3 separate regions of the Homo sapiens genome follow, and regions 1 and 2 are each linked to region 3. Evidence: promoter capture Hi-C in 16 types of primary human blood cells and fetal thymus (Javierre and others, 2016). All regions are on one chromosome and are shown on one strand. The core of a region is centred on a gene start or on the middle of the fragment in contact, and the rest is flanking DNA. Distances in the headings are between cores, read along the strand shown.

Region 1 (3,937 bases), core at 321-2,820, 3.0 Mb after region 3:
TTAAACTGAGCCTTCATTCAACTTGTCCAGAACATCAGTCAAGAATGTCTATTTAAAATGTTCTTGGAGGCCGGGCGCATTGGCTCACGCCTATAATCTGAGCACTTTGGGAGGCCAAGGCAGGTGGATCATCTGAGGTTAGGAGTTTGAGACCAGCCTGGCCAACATGGTGAAACCCCATCTCTATTAAAAATACAAAAATTAGCCAGGCATGGTGGTGGGTGCCTGTAGTCCCAGCTACTCAGGAGGCTGAGGAAGGAGAATTGCTTGAACCTGGGAGGCAGAGGTTGCAGTGAGCCAAGATTGAGCCACTGCACTCCTGCCTGGGCTACAAGAGTGAAACTCTGTCTCAAGCAAGCAAATAAATAAATAAATAAATAAATAAATAAAGTTATTGGGCAGGCACAGTGGCATTCGCCTGTAGTCTCAGCTACTTGGGAGGCTGAAGCAAGAGGACTGCTTGAAGCTGGGAGTTCGAGCCCAGCCAAAGCAACCTATCCAGACCCATCTCTTAAAAAAAATATTTCTCTGCCAGGTGCGGTGGTTCATGCCTGTAATCCCAGCACTTTGGGAGGCCAAGGTGGGCGGATCATTTGAAGTCAGGTGTTCGAGACCAGACTGGTCAACATGGAGGAACCCTGTCTCTACTAAAAATGCAAAAATTAGCCAGGCGTGGTGGTGCACGCCTGTAATCCCAGCTACTCGGGAGGCTGAGGCAGGAGAATTGCATGAACCGGCGAGACGGAGGTTGCAGTCAGCTGAGACTGCACCACTGCACTCCAGCCTGGGCGACAGAGCGAGGCTCCATCTCAAAAAAAAAAAAAAAAATATCATCTATCTATCCACCTACCTACCTACCTACCTACCTGGATTATAATTCATTAAGTTCTCTGTGCCCTGTAGTTGTAGATTAAGGGAATGCGATTGGATTAGTGTGGAGGGGCTTTTTATGGAGCCAAGCAGGAGTTTTTAAGCTTTTGTACTTTTGCTTCATGTCACAAGGACAGATGCCCCACAAAGGCTGAGATGTTTGTGGTCCTGGATCTTAGAACAGTGCCTGGCACATAATAGGCATAAGGTTGCCAGGAAATAGAAATACAGATACTCAATTCAATTTGATCTTCAGATAATCAAAAAATACTTTTTTTAGTATAAATATGTCCCATTCTGTATTTGGGACATACATATTACACTGTTGTTTATCTGAAATTCAAATTTAAGTGGGTGTCCTGTACTTTATCTGGCAACCCTACTAAAGGAGCTCAATTAAGTATTTGCTGACTTAACAGTCTGAAGGTCTCGTTTCACCTGTAAAATGGGGCTAGTACCTGTCCCTGCCTCTATAAGGTTGATGGGCAGAGTAGGTGGCATTCAGTGAGCCCTCAATTTATTTGATTGCCTGGGACCATCCGGTGAGCAGAAACCCTTCCACTTTCAACTACAGAGACGATAAAAAGGCCTCCTCGAGGCCAGAGGTGCCCAGGCCAGGCCTAGGTGGCCCGCACCTGCGAGCCTGGCCAGCCTCTTCCGGGTCAGGTGACCGCGCGCGGTCACGTGACCCGGCCCGAGTGCGGGCGGTGGAAGGCGGAAGTAGGAGAGGAGTTCGGCGCCGCTTCTGTGGCCACGGCAGGTAGCGAGCGCTGGCGCGGGGGGCGCGGTGGGCTGGCTGCCTGCACGGGGCGGGCCGGGGGCGGCGGGCGGCGCGGGGTGGGCCGGGGGCGGCGCGGCCCGGGCGTCGGGGGGCGGCGGCTTCCTGTGGGAGGGGCCTGGCGCGGCGGTTCCGGCCTCCGAGGAGGGGTGTCCCGGCTCCCGCCCGAGTGGGGTGGGCGCGCCGCGGCCCGCGCGGGGGTTGCTCCGAAATGGGTGCCCCGGCCGCCAAGGGTGCAGCTGGAGCGAGTCCTCCCGGAAGGGGAGAGGAGCTTAGGTTCCCAGGCATGGAGAGGAGCGATCTTTGTGGAGGGATCGGGACCAGGGGAAGGGGCGACTTGGAACTGAGCTGGAAGGGGGTGCCTGAAAATGGGTTTATGGCGTGGAGCCAGAGGGAAAAAGATGCTGCCTGGACCCCCTCTGAGAGTCTCTCCCTTCCTTCCTGTTTGGAAATGATTGTTACCCGAGACTTTGATGACGGTCCCATTCAGTTTTTAAACTTCAGGAGGGATCACAGAATCTTGATCGTCTTGCTTCCCTCGCGCCCACTTAGTCCTGCGTGGGTAGGGTTTCCACTTCTTGGGAGCCTAGCCCTTCAGCTCATTTTTCTTTGAGATTTTCCCTGAACGGGCCATCATCGAGGCTTTAAAAAACAAAAAAAGAAAATAAATTAAAAAAATAAGTGTGGGCACTTTGCCTGTAAAATGGCTTTTAGCTTACACTGTTGACCTAGCCCAGCGTTACCTCAGCAACATAGTGACTGCTGAAATCTTGGACAGAGAAGTGTCTACCTAGACTGCTTTATGACTTTTCTCTTTCTTCCGTTTAAATTATTCAGTTTCCCTTAGCTTATCTTGTGACTGCTTATCTTGACGAACTGTAACTAGGTAGGGTGCCTGAGAGGTCTGTGTTATGTTCCTTAGAACTGTGACCTGGATCATGATTTTGAGATTGAATACTTGTGTTAAAGCCTGTTCATCTTCCTGTTTCTCATGTTTACTAAAATTTGCAGAAGCAAAAGGAGTTTCATGAGTGCAGTGTAACTGGAACGAATGTTCAAACTGGACATTCACAGCAGCCAGCATCGTTTTGGGTTACAAGTAGGAAAAAGTACTTTCCTAATGTATTATGAGTTCAAGTTTTTGGAGTTATTTGACAAACATTTAAAAATTAGTTTTTGCAGCAGCGCCTATGAGTGAGGTTGGGAAGATGTATTCTCATTTCACAGGGAACAAACAGACTTACGAGAGACGACTTGATTTTTTAAAACAATTTATTGCTCTTTCTTGTTTGCTGGCCTCTTCCTGCTAGATTGCAAATCCTTCAAGGGCAGGTTTCATATTTTATTTGGCTGCTAGCCTAGTGCCTGGCATGTTGTGAGCACTTGATAAATATTTGGTGAATAAATGCATTTCTAAAAGTCACACCGGCGTAAGTGGTGACAAAGGATTTGAACCCAAGTCTTCTACTCTTTTTCTTGTCAGAGAAGCTTGTGATTATCTGTGTCATTGGTCCATATGAAAACAGGCTCGAGAGAAAGGCTTGGATTGGCTTCTCAGTCTCTTTCACTTCATGATTACTTTCCCATTTACAAAGAGCGTATACCAACATCTCACTTAACCTTCCCTTTGAAATTGGGATGGTCAGTATTGTCCCTATATCACATGAAGAGACTGAGGCTTAATGAAGTCCTTACTTTAGATTTCAGAGCTAGTAAATGAGTAGGGACTCAAGCCCAGACCCTTAATCCTTAGATCCATTCTTTTTCATTTATTGACACAATAGAAAATTTTATTTTTATTTTATTTTGAGACAGGATCTTACTCTGTTGCCCAGGCTGGAGTGCAGTGGCACAATCACGGCTCACTGTAACCTTGACCTGCCTGGGCTCGGGTGATCCTCCCATGTCTGCCTCCCAAACAGCTGGGACTACAGGTGGGTGCCACCTCGCCTGGCTAATTTTTGTAGAGACAGGGGTTTTGCTATGTTGCCCGGGCTGTTTTCAAACTCCGGGGCTCAAGCGATCCTCCCACCTCGGCCTCTCAAAGTGTTGCAATTACAGGTGTAAGTCACCATGCCCAACTGAAAGTTTTATTTTTACATAATTTTTCAGGAATAAAAAGTGTAACATTTTAAGGAAAAAGATCACACAGAAAAAGTTGTGAATGTAGAATGTGAGTAAATGAAGTTTAGAAAACGCTGTACTCTACCATAGCTTCCTCTTCCTGGGAAAACATTCTTTCATTCAGTGAATATTTATAAGTACCCACTCTGTCTTTGCCAGGCATTG
Region 2 (4,021 bases), core at 436-2,935, 3.8 Mb after region 3:
AACAGAAATTGGTGTATATTTTGAACAGAGATGCTGCAGCCCGACTTACCATTTCATCTCCCCTGGAAGCCCACAAAGCAAACACTTTAGTGTATCATGTAGTTGGAGTAGATGTCGGATTTGAAAATCCAATGTTTGCTTGTCTGGAAATGGATTATGAGGTAATGGGGACCCTGTCTCTTTGCGTTTCTTTCAGTCACCTCAGTGTTTTTTTTTAAGATTGTTTTCCGGCCGGGCGTGGTGGCTCACGCCTGTAATCCCAGCACTTTGGGAGGCAAGGCTGGCGGATCATGAGGTCAGGAGATCGAGACCATTCTGGCTAACACAGTGAAACCCCATCTCTACTAAAAATACAAAAAGAAAATAGCCGGGCATCGTGGCGGGCGCCTGTGGTCCAGCTACTCGGGAAGCTGAGGCAGGAGAATGGCGTGAACCCGGGAGGTGGAGCTTGCAGTGAGCCGAGATCTCGCCACTGCACTCCAGCCTGGGCGACAGAGTGAGACTCCATCTCAAAAAAAAACGAAAAGATCGTTTTCTTCCTTGTGCATACCTTTTTTTCTTTTTTTTGAGACAGTCTTGCTCTGTTGCCCAGGCTGGGGTGCAGTGGCACAATCTCAGCTCGCTGCAACCTCTGCCTCAGCCTCCTGAGTAGCTGGGACTACAGGTGCTGCCACAACGCCCAGCTAATTTTTGTATTTTTAGTAGAGATGGGGTTTCACTATGTTGGCCAGGCTGGTCTTCTGACCCCAGGTGATTGGCCCACCTCAGCCTTCCAGAGTGCTGGGATTATAAGGCCTGAGCCACCTCACCCAGGCCCAGCCCCTTATGCATATCTTAATTCTGTCCTGCTAGCAGATCTTCATATTCCAAATGCCTTACTGAAATTCTTTGGGATGCTTCAGAGGTTAAGCAACTATTTAATAGTCTTTCTCTGATTTAAGTAATCTCCCTATGGAAACAAGATATTTATTGGGAAAAGCTTCATGAAAAACTTGAAGCTATGTTTAAGGTATTTTTTCACAGAACATACTATTGTTTTCCTTTAACGGAAGGCAGTATCCTCTAGTAGAGAGCTCCCTGGATCCAGAATTTGGAGATTGCAGTTCTCGTTCTAGCTCTGCCATTATCTTATAGCATAAACTTTGTCAAACTATTTGGCGTCAGCCAGGTGTGGTGGCATGTGCCTATAGTCCTAGCTGCTTGGGAGCCTGAGGCCCAGGAATTCTAGGCTGCAGTGAGATAAGATTGTACCACTGCAGTCGTGTACAGTGGCTCACGCCTGTAATCCAAGTTTGGGAGGCCGAGGCGGGCAGATCACCTGAGGTCAGGAGTTCGAGACCAGCCTGACCAACATGGAGAAACCCCATCTCTACTAAAAATACAAAATTAGCCAGGCGTGGTGGCACATGCTTGTAATCCCAGCAACTCGGGAGGCTGAGGCAGGAGAATCACTTGAACCTGGGAGGTGGAGGTTGTGGTGAGCTGAGATCGTGCCATTGCACTCCAGCCTGGGCAACGAGCAAAACTCCGTCTCAAAAAAAAAAAAAGATCATACCTCTGTGCACTGCAGCCTGGGTGACATAGTGAGAACCTGTCTCTCCAAAAAAAAAAGAAGACATTTGTGGACTTCTGTTTCCTCATTTGTAAATTGGAGTCCTGATGTCCTTTCCAGATCTTCGATTTTATGCTGATGATTAGTTTTTATGCCACTATTCTCTGTAGGAAGCAGACAATGATCCAACAGGGGAAGCAGCAGCTAATACCCAGCAGACACTTACTTTCTATGAGCTAGACCTTGGTTTAAATCATGTGGTCCGAAAATACAGTGAACCTTTGGAGGAACACGGCAACTTCCTTATTACAGGTACTTTTCTTTCAGAGCTGCTTTGTACCCTTTTACTTGGTTCATTTTATGCCCAAACCTAATAGGTTTTACTTAAAGGGTTTGGGAATTAATCCATTTGTTGTGAACCTGAATACCTTATCTTTTGGACAGGTTAGAAGTTCATGTGGTGGAGTGATTTTAAAAAGTGTTGGGGATAAAGACTGCCTAGCTCCTTAATAACTCATATTCTACTGAGGGCAGGGAAGAGAAGTTGAAGGGAGCAGTCAGCTTGGAATATTGATTACTGTTAGTTGCTGTGACAGTTTGGCTGTAGTCAGTCTTTGCCTCTCATTCAAACCTAACTCTTTCAAAAGCCAAACAAAATGGACAGACCCCACAAGATGGAACTTGTGAATTTGAAAACTTAAACAAAATAGAAATATTTTTGAAGACGATTACCAGATTGATCCAAAAATAAATTAAGAACTTCAATAGACCAGCGTTAGAGAAATTGAAGCAGTAGTCCAAAGTCACTCTCCCAAAAGATTGAGGTCCAGGATTTTCAGGAAAGCTTTTATCTTCTTGTTGAGGGACATATATGTATTCCGTTTTAAAACAAGTTTCTCGGCTGGGCATGGTGGCTCACGCCTATAACCCTAGCACTTTAGGAGGCTGAGGCAGGAGCATCACTTGATCTCAGGAGTTTGAGACCATCCTGGGAAACAAGGTGAGATCTTGTCTCAATGAAAAAGTAAATATTAAAAAAAAAAGTAAAACAGATTTCTCTAGAGTAGAAAAAGAGTAAATGCTACTGTGCCGCTCTCTGAGTCTAGTATGACTACAGTATCAAAACTAGGGATGGACAGTAACAAAAAAAATTTGCAGGCTAGTTCATACGGTTGTAGATAGGAAAAGCTAACATTCCAGCAAATCAGATTCAGTGTTTTAAATGCACATAGCTAAGTAACGTTTTTGGAGGAGCTAAAAAATGGAAAATATTTTCATGGTTGGAAATCAGTTCACCATTGGAAAATACACGTTACTAATTGATTATATTAAAAGACTAAATGAGTACAGCTACATTTGTGGTCATCTGCATTTCAGCAGGCTTGGGGAAAACTGATCTAGTTCTATTTTGAATCATTTGCACTTCAACTGATGTCTAAAATAAGATGTTGTTTGGGGAAGATACTGGAGAATAAAAATAAAGGACAGCACTTACCTTTGTTAATACGTTAAGCAGATGAATTTTTGATCACACATCTCATTACTTGTAACATATTACCATACCTTTCATTTACAAGGGCTTTTTCATTCTTTCAACACATTTTTATTGAGCCTTTGCAGTCAGTATGTGCTAAGTCAGTCTGCTGGATCTTGGGACTTCAGTGGTGAAAAATTAGACGTGGTGCCGCCTTTGTGCAAGATTGAGTCTGGTGGTGAATACAGATAAATAACCAAAACAATTACCAGAAACTGTGCCAAATGCCATGACAGCACAGAGAAGAGGTTCCCTAAACAGGGAAAGGAAACGAATGTGTTACAGAAAGCTTGCTGGAGTCTCTAAGCTGAGATCTGAGGGCTAGTTAGAAGTTAGCTAGGTGCAGTTGGAGTGGGAGAGGAAGTTTCAGTTGTAGGCAAAGGGAACAGCATTTACAAAAGCCTAAATACAAGAAATAACATGGTCCATTCAAATAATTAAAAGCTCATTATGATTTAATTATTAAGGGACTGGGGTAGGAGTAGGGGTGGGGTGAAAGCTACTGAAGGATTCTAAGTAGGGAAATAATCTGATAGGTTGACAACCTTAGAAAGATTAATTGCTTACATTTTGGCTAATGAAATGGAGGATATTAAGACTGTAAGAGGGGAGACTGATGAGGACATTAAGAGATACTGGTAGCTGCTAAGGAGGTAGAATCAATAGGGCTTTGGGAGGAGAGAGAATTGAAGGATTATACTCAGGTGTCTGGTTTGGTCTGTTGATGGTAGTATTCTCTAAGGTGGAGAATCTAGGAGGTGGAGCAGGGTTGGGAAGGAACTTGAGTTTGTTTATGAACATGCTGTTACTTTATTTTATTTTTATTTTATTTATTTACGTTCTTGAGACAGAATCTCGCACTGTTGCCCAGGCTAGAGCACAGTGGCACGATCTTGGCTCACTACAACCTCCACCTCCTGGGTTTAAGCAGTTCT
Region 3 (3,951 bases), core at 702-3,201:
AAAAGTTTCACCACAAGAAAAACAAGAAATCTTCAAAATATGATACAATTAACCTAAAAGTCCAGGTACTGTGAACTAAAAAAAGTCTGATCCTGCTTCACAATGGTGAAGAATGGAAGTTATTCACTTTTGATTTTAGTACATCTCCTTCACAAACATTCTGAAGGCTAAGAAACTGACGAAAATAATTATAGACCTAGCAAAACTCTTCAGTACAATCTCAGTTAATTATTAAGCACTTCTTCATCTCCCTCCACCCAAACAACACCCCCCTTCCCCGGATCCTTAAACATCAAGGAGAACCATCGCCAAACATTACTAGGCACTTCTGCCATTTAATAATATGGAATTACAGAACATGAGAATTGAAAGGCAGTCAGTCCACAGATCAAAGACCTCCTCTCCATCTCCAATGCCTCTACCTTATTCAGGCCCTCTGCATCCAGACCAAGGTGAGGACCTGTCAGCCTGACTTCAGTACCTGCTCATTTTGAGCTACTGTCCCTCTGCAGGCAGCGTTCTTTCTAAAACTCAGATCTGGTGATCTTGATCCCCCACTTCTTGAAGATCTCTAAGGGTCCGGTATTACCTACCACAGTCAATTCCTGAGAAAGGTCACACATTCTAACAGTAGGAAAACTACCAAGGCAGTGATTCCCATGGGAATTGGGGGATGGAGGTGAGATAAAAGCCATTTGAAAAATCAGAGAACTTCAGGAAACAGCACTAACTCTTCAGCCTTCCCACAATCTGCCCCCAACTTACCTTAGCAGCCACCAACCACAAGGCGCTTCTAGCAGTTTCCAAACCCCACACCCTCTTGTCATCTGTGTCCCTGCATACTGACACTTTTCTGCAAAATACTCAACCCCCGAATCATCCTCCTTCACCAGCTCTAAGCAGTGTAATGCTTCCACAATAATCGGCATGGTGCAATGCAATCACCAATACATCTGTCTTCCACCAGACTGAGATTCTTCTATAGTGTTTAAGAGTCGCCTATGCTGAGCCTGTGCCCAGCCCACAGGTCCCAAGCAACAAATGGACTTGCTGTGTGAATGTACCCAAACTCCCTCACTTGAGGAGAGTGAGGCCAGAGGGAGTAAGGGACCTGACTCAGGTAACCTAGCAGTGAGGGCTAGCATAATGGAGGAAACGTCCCCAGTGCTGACTCTCTGTCCTCTGCAAAGTCCCTAAAACCTCGGACTATGCACTACTGATGAGGCTCAAAGAAGGCTCCCGTGGTCATTTCCCCACAGCTCCGAGCCCAGGTCACCTCGTTCTCCCACCTTCTCCACCTAATCTCATCTACTAGCTTCCCCTCTCCACGACCTCAATTTGGTAACCGTCGAGGCAATGAAGGCATAGAGGGCCAAGTGACTGAAACAATATGCCGACAACCCCAAAGCACCACTACGCTCTCCAAAGAGGGCAGCATCCCACCCTCAGGCGCTGGAGGCTTGACCACTCTCCAGCTGACCGGCCAGGGCCGACGGTCCCTTTCCCGCCAGGCTGCGGGCAGGCGGCTGGAACGGGGAAGGCGGGGACCTGAGGGAGGGGCGCCCGCCTCGCCCACCCCAGCGACCTGGGGCAACGCCCCGCCGCCGGCGCTCACCGAAGACCAGGATGTTCTTGCCGGACGGCAGCTTGGACCTGGCGCGGGTGGACACTTCGCTCAGAATGGAGGACCTGTGGCGACAATGGCAAGAGTGGTCAGCCCCGGGCCGGGCTGGGATGGCCCGGCTCGCGTCGGCCCCTCAGTGTGTCCGACGGTCCGGCCCAGAGGCCGCGCCCCCCACGGCCCGGCCCGACCGCCCGCGGCCTCACCATAGGCTCTGGCCTTCCTCCTCCTCACTGGTCAGGTCGCCGGCGGCCGCCACCGCGGGCCCGTTGGGACCTAGCAGCAGCTTCTTCTCCACCCCCACCGGCGCCATCTTGCCAACTGCAGCCACAAAGAGGGCCCTCCCCCGGGCCCGCCGAGGACCCGCGAGGACCCGGGCCGGGCCGCCCCCCGCTCGCCGTCCCTCGCGCCGCGCCGCCCGCCGACCTTGCCGCGGCGACTGCGCCGCCCAACGTGTCCTCTAGGTCTGCGATGGCCACGGGCTCCCACGGGTTGCGAGGCCGCCGAGGTGGCGGGCGGCGGTCAGGCAGCCGCCGGGGCAGCCATGCGCGGGGAGGCGGTGGCAGGGGCGGGCACCGTCCGGACCGAGGGCGCGCTGGCGGCCTCTGCCGGCTGAGGGGCGCAGCGCAGCACCCCGCCACGCTCGCCGATTCCCCTGCGCCGTCGCGGGTCGGGCAGCCGGATGACCGACCCGAAAGCCTAGGCTTTGGGAATGAGACTGATGGACACAAAAGCGCCATTTATCTAGAGCTCACCATGTGCCAGAGTCACACATTATCTCACTGAATCTTATCTAACCCTTTCACAGATGAGGAACCTGAAGCTCAAAAAATTTAAGAAACCCACCCAAGGACCCAAGGCTAGAAGATAACATTCGGTACTTCTAATTTATTCCCCAACCTTGGACCATTATATCATGAACTTGGCCTAACCCTACTCAAGCCCTGCATTGAAAGACTAGCCTTAAGGAAGACCCCAGAATCCTCATAAATATCCTGCATTTCCCCCTCCTCCTCCGAAGACTAAAGACTGTGAAGTAGTGCTCTTGACCGCAGTGCATAATACACTTGGCTTTGCTTTATTAACATGCTTTTTAAAATGATGTTTTCAGGGAGCCAGCATTTCACACCAGAAGAGGAGCCCTTAATTTCCTTGGGGGCCAGCTGGCAGGTGCAGAGCGGGGAGAAAAATAAAAGGAAAGGGGATGGAAAAGGGAAAGAGCGGAGAGTAACCGAAGGAAAAACATACATTCCATTATCAAGCTTAATTTTAGGTGTGGCCTCTACTTGAGGGCTCTTGCCATTCTCTATGGAAACAGGCTAACAAGACATTTCTAAATATCACAAGGAAGTGGAATGTGGCAGAAAAGCACCACCTAAGTAGGTTTCAGATGAGTAGGATTGTGATCCTGATGCCAAAAAATCTGGCGGCATGAATTACGGGATAAAACAAATGGGCATATCATCTGCCAAACTGGATGTAAGGTTTAAACAAGACGAGAGTGAAAACCCACTGAGTTCCTCCCTTGGAAATCTGGGAAAATCAGGCAAAGTGCCAGAAGTCCTAAAAGGGCAAGCAGTGCTGAATTTTCACAGGACAGAAGATGGAGATGAAAATTACAGGCCAGTGAGCTTAATCAGCACTAAGTGAAATTTTGTGATTAAACACTAAAGGAAAAGAGAATACCAGATTTACACAGTATCTTTCTTTTTTGCAGGAGTACCAGGTAGGCGGATGCTGCAGATACAGCAAATGCAGATTTCAACAGGGCATTTGACAATTCACATCTTAGATGCGAAAGTGAAATCAATGCTGGATGATAGCACTGAGGCTTATTAAAGACTAGCCCAGAGGTGGCTGATGAAGAGGAGGGACCAGCAGATGAGGCTGCTAGGGGCCTGCCCAAACCTCCTGCCCTGGCCAGCCAATTCAGGGTGCCATCAGTGACTTGGATAAGAATACAGCAGCAGTCATGGAAGTTGTGGATGACCTGAAGCAGGAAGGGTTGCCTTATCTACTGCATGACAAACTGAGCAGAGACTAAATCTAACAAGTTGAAATTTAGCAGGAACTATTAAAGTCCTGTGGAAGAGTTTAACAAAAAAGCATAGGAAGGCCAGGTACGGTGGCTCACACCTGTAATCCCGGCACTTTGGGAGGCCGAGGCTGGCGGATCACTTGAGGTCAGGAGTTCCAGACCAGCCTGTCCAACATGGCCAAACCCCGTCTCTACTAAAAATACAAAAAAAAAAAAAAAAAATTAGCCAGGAATGGTGGCATCCGCCTGTAATCCCAGCTGCCTGGGAGGCTGAAGCACGATAATTGCTTGA

The links. The method cuts DNA at HindIII sites, captures the fragments that hold promoters and counts their contacts. A CHiCAGO score of 5 or more calls a contact.
Region 1: the fragment with the promoter of WWP2 here is called in contact with the fragment with the promoter of DYNC1LI2 in region 3 in 5 of 17 cell types (activated CD4 T cells, monocytes, non-activated CD4 T cells and 2 more); the score reaches 8.7 in activated CD4 T cells.
Region 2: a contact is called between a fragment that was not itself captured here and the fragment with the promoter of DYNC1LI2 in region 3, in 5 of 17 cell types (naive CD8 T cells, total B cells, non-activated CD4 T cells and 2 more). The highest score is 7.8, in naive CD8 T cells.

What each region holds. Positions count from the first base shown.
Region 1 is chr16:69,760,762-69,764,698 of GRCh38, forward strand. WWP2 (WW domain containing E3 ubiquitin protein ligase 2) reads left to right here and starts at 1,571. Exons shown (of 24, transcript NM_001270454.2): 1 at 1,571-1,630. RefSeq lists an enhancer at 1,376-1,954 and silencers at 1,658-1,797, 1,818-1,977, 1,998-2,047. The HindIII fragment of the contact is 2,162 bases long and covers 973-3,134 here.
Region 2 is chr16:70,530,757-70,534,777 of GRCh38, forward strand. It overlaps SF3B3 (splicing factor 3b subunit 3), which reads left to right. Exons shown (of 26, transcript NM_012426.5): 4 at 1-161; 5 at 1,723-1,864. Among named protein-coding and RNA genes, the nearest start is that of SNORD111B, 3.3 kb to the left of the region's middle. The HindIII fragment of the contact is 1,417 bases long and covers 978-2,394 here.
Region 3 is chr16:66,749,658-66,753,608 of GRCh38, forward strand. It overlaps DYNC1LI2 (dynein cytoplasmic 1 light intermediate chain 2), which reads right to left and starts at 1,952. Exons shown (of 13, transcript NM_006141.3): 1 at 1,828-1,952; 2 at 1,616-1,689. The coding sequence starts at 1,934. It overlaps DYNC1LI2-DT (DYNC1LI2 divergent transcript), which reads left to right and starts at 2,095. Exons shown (of 2, transcript NR_133569.1): 1 at 2,095-3,243; 2 at 3,339-3,951. RefSeq lists a silencer at 1,580-2,379 and an enhancer at 1,593-2,308. The HindIII fragment of the contact is 3,643 bases long and covers 1-2,881 here.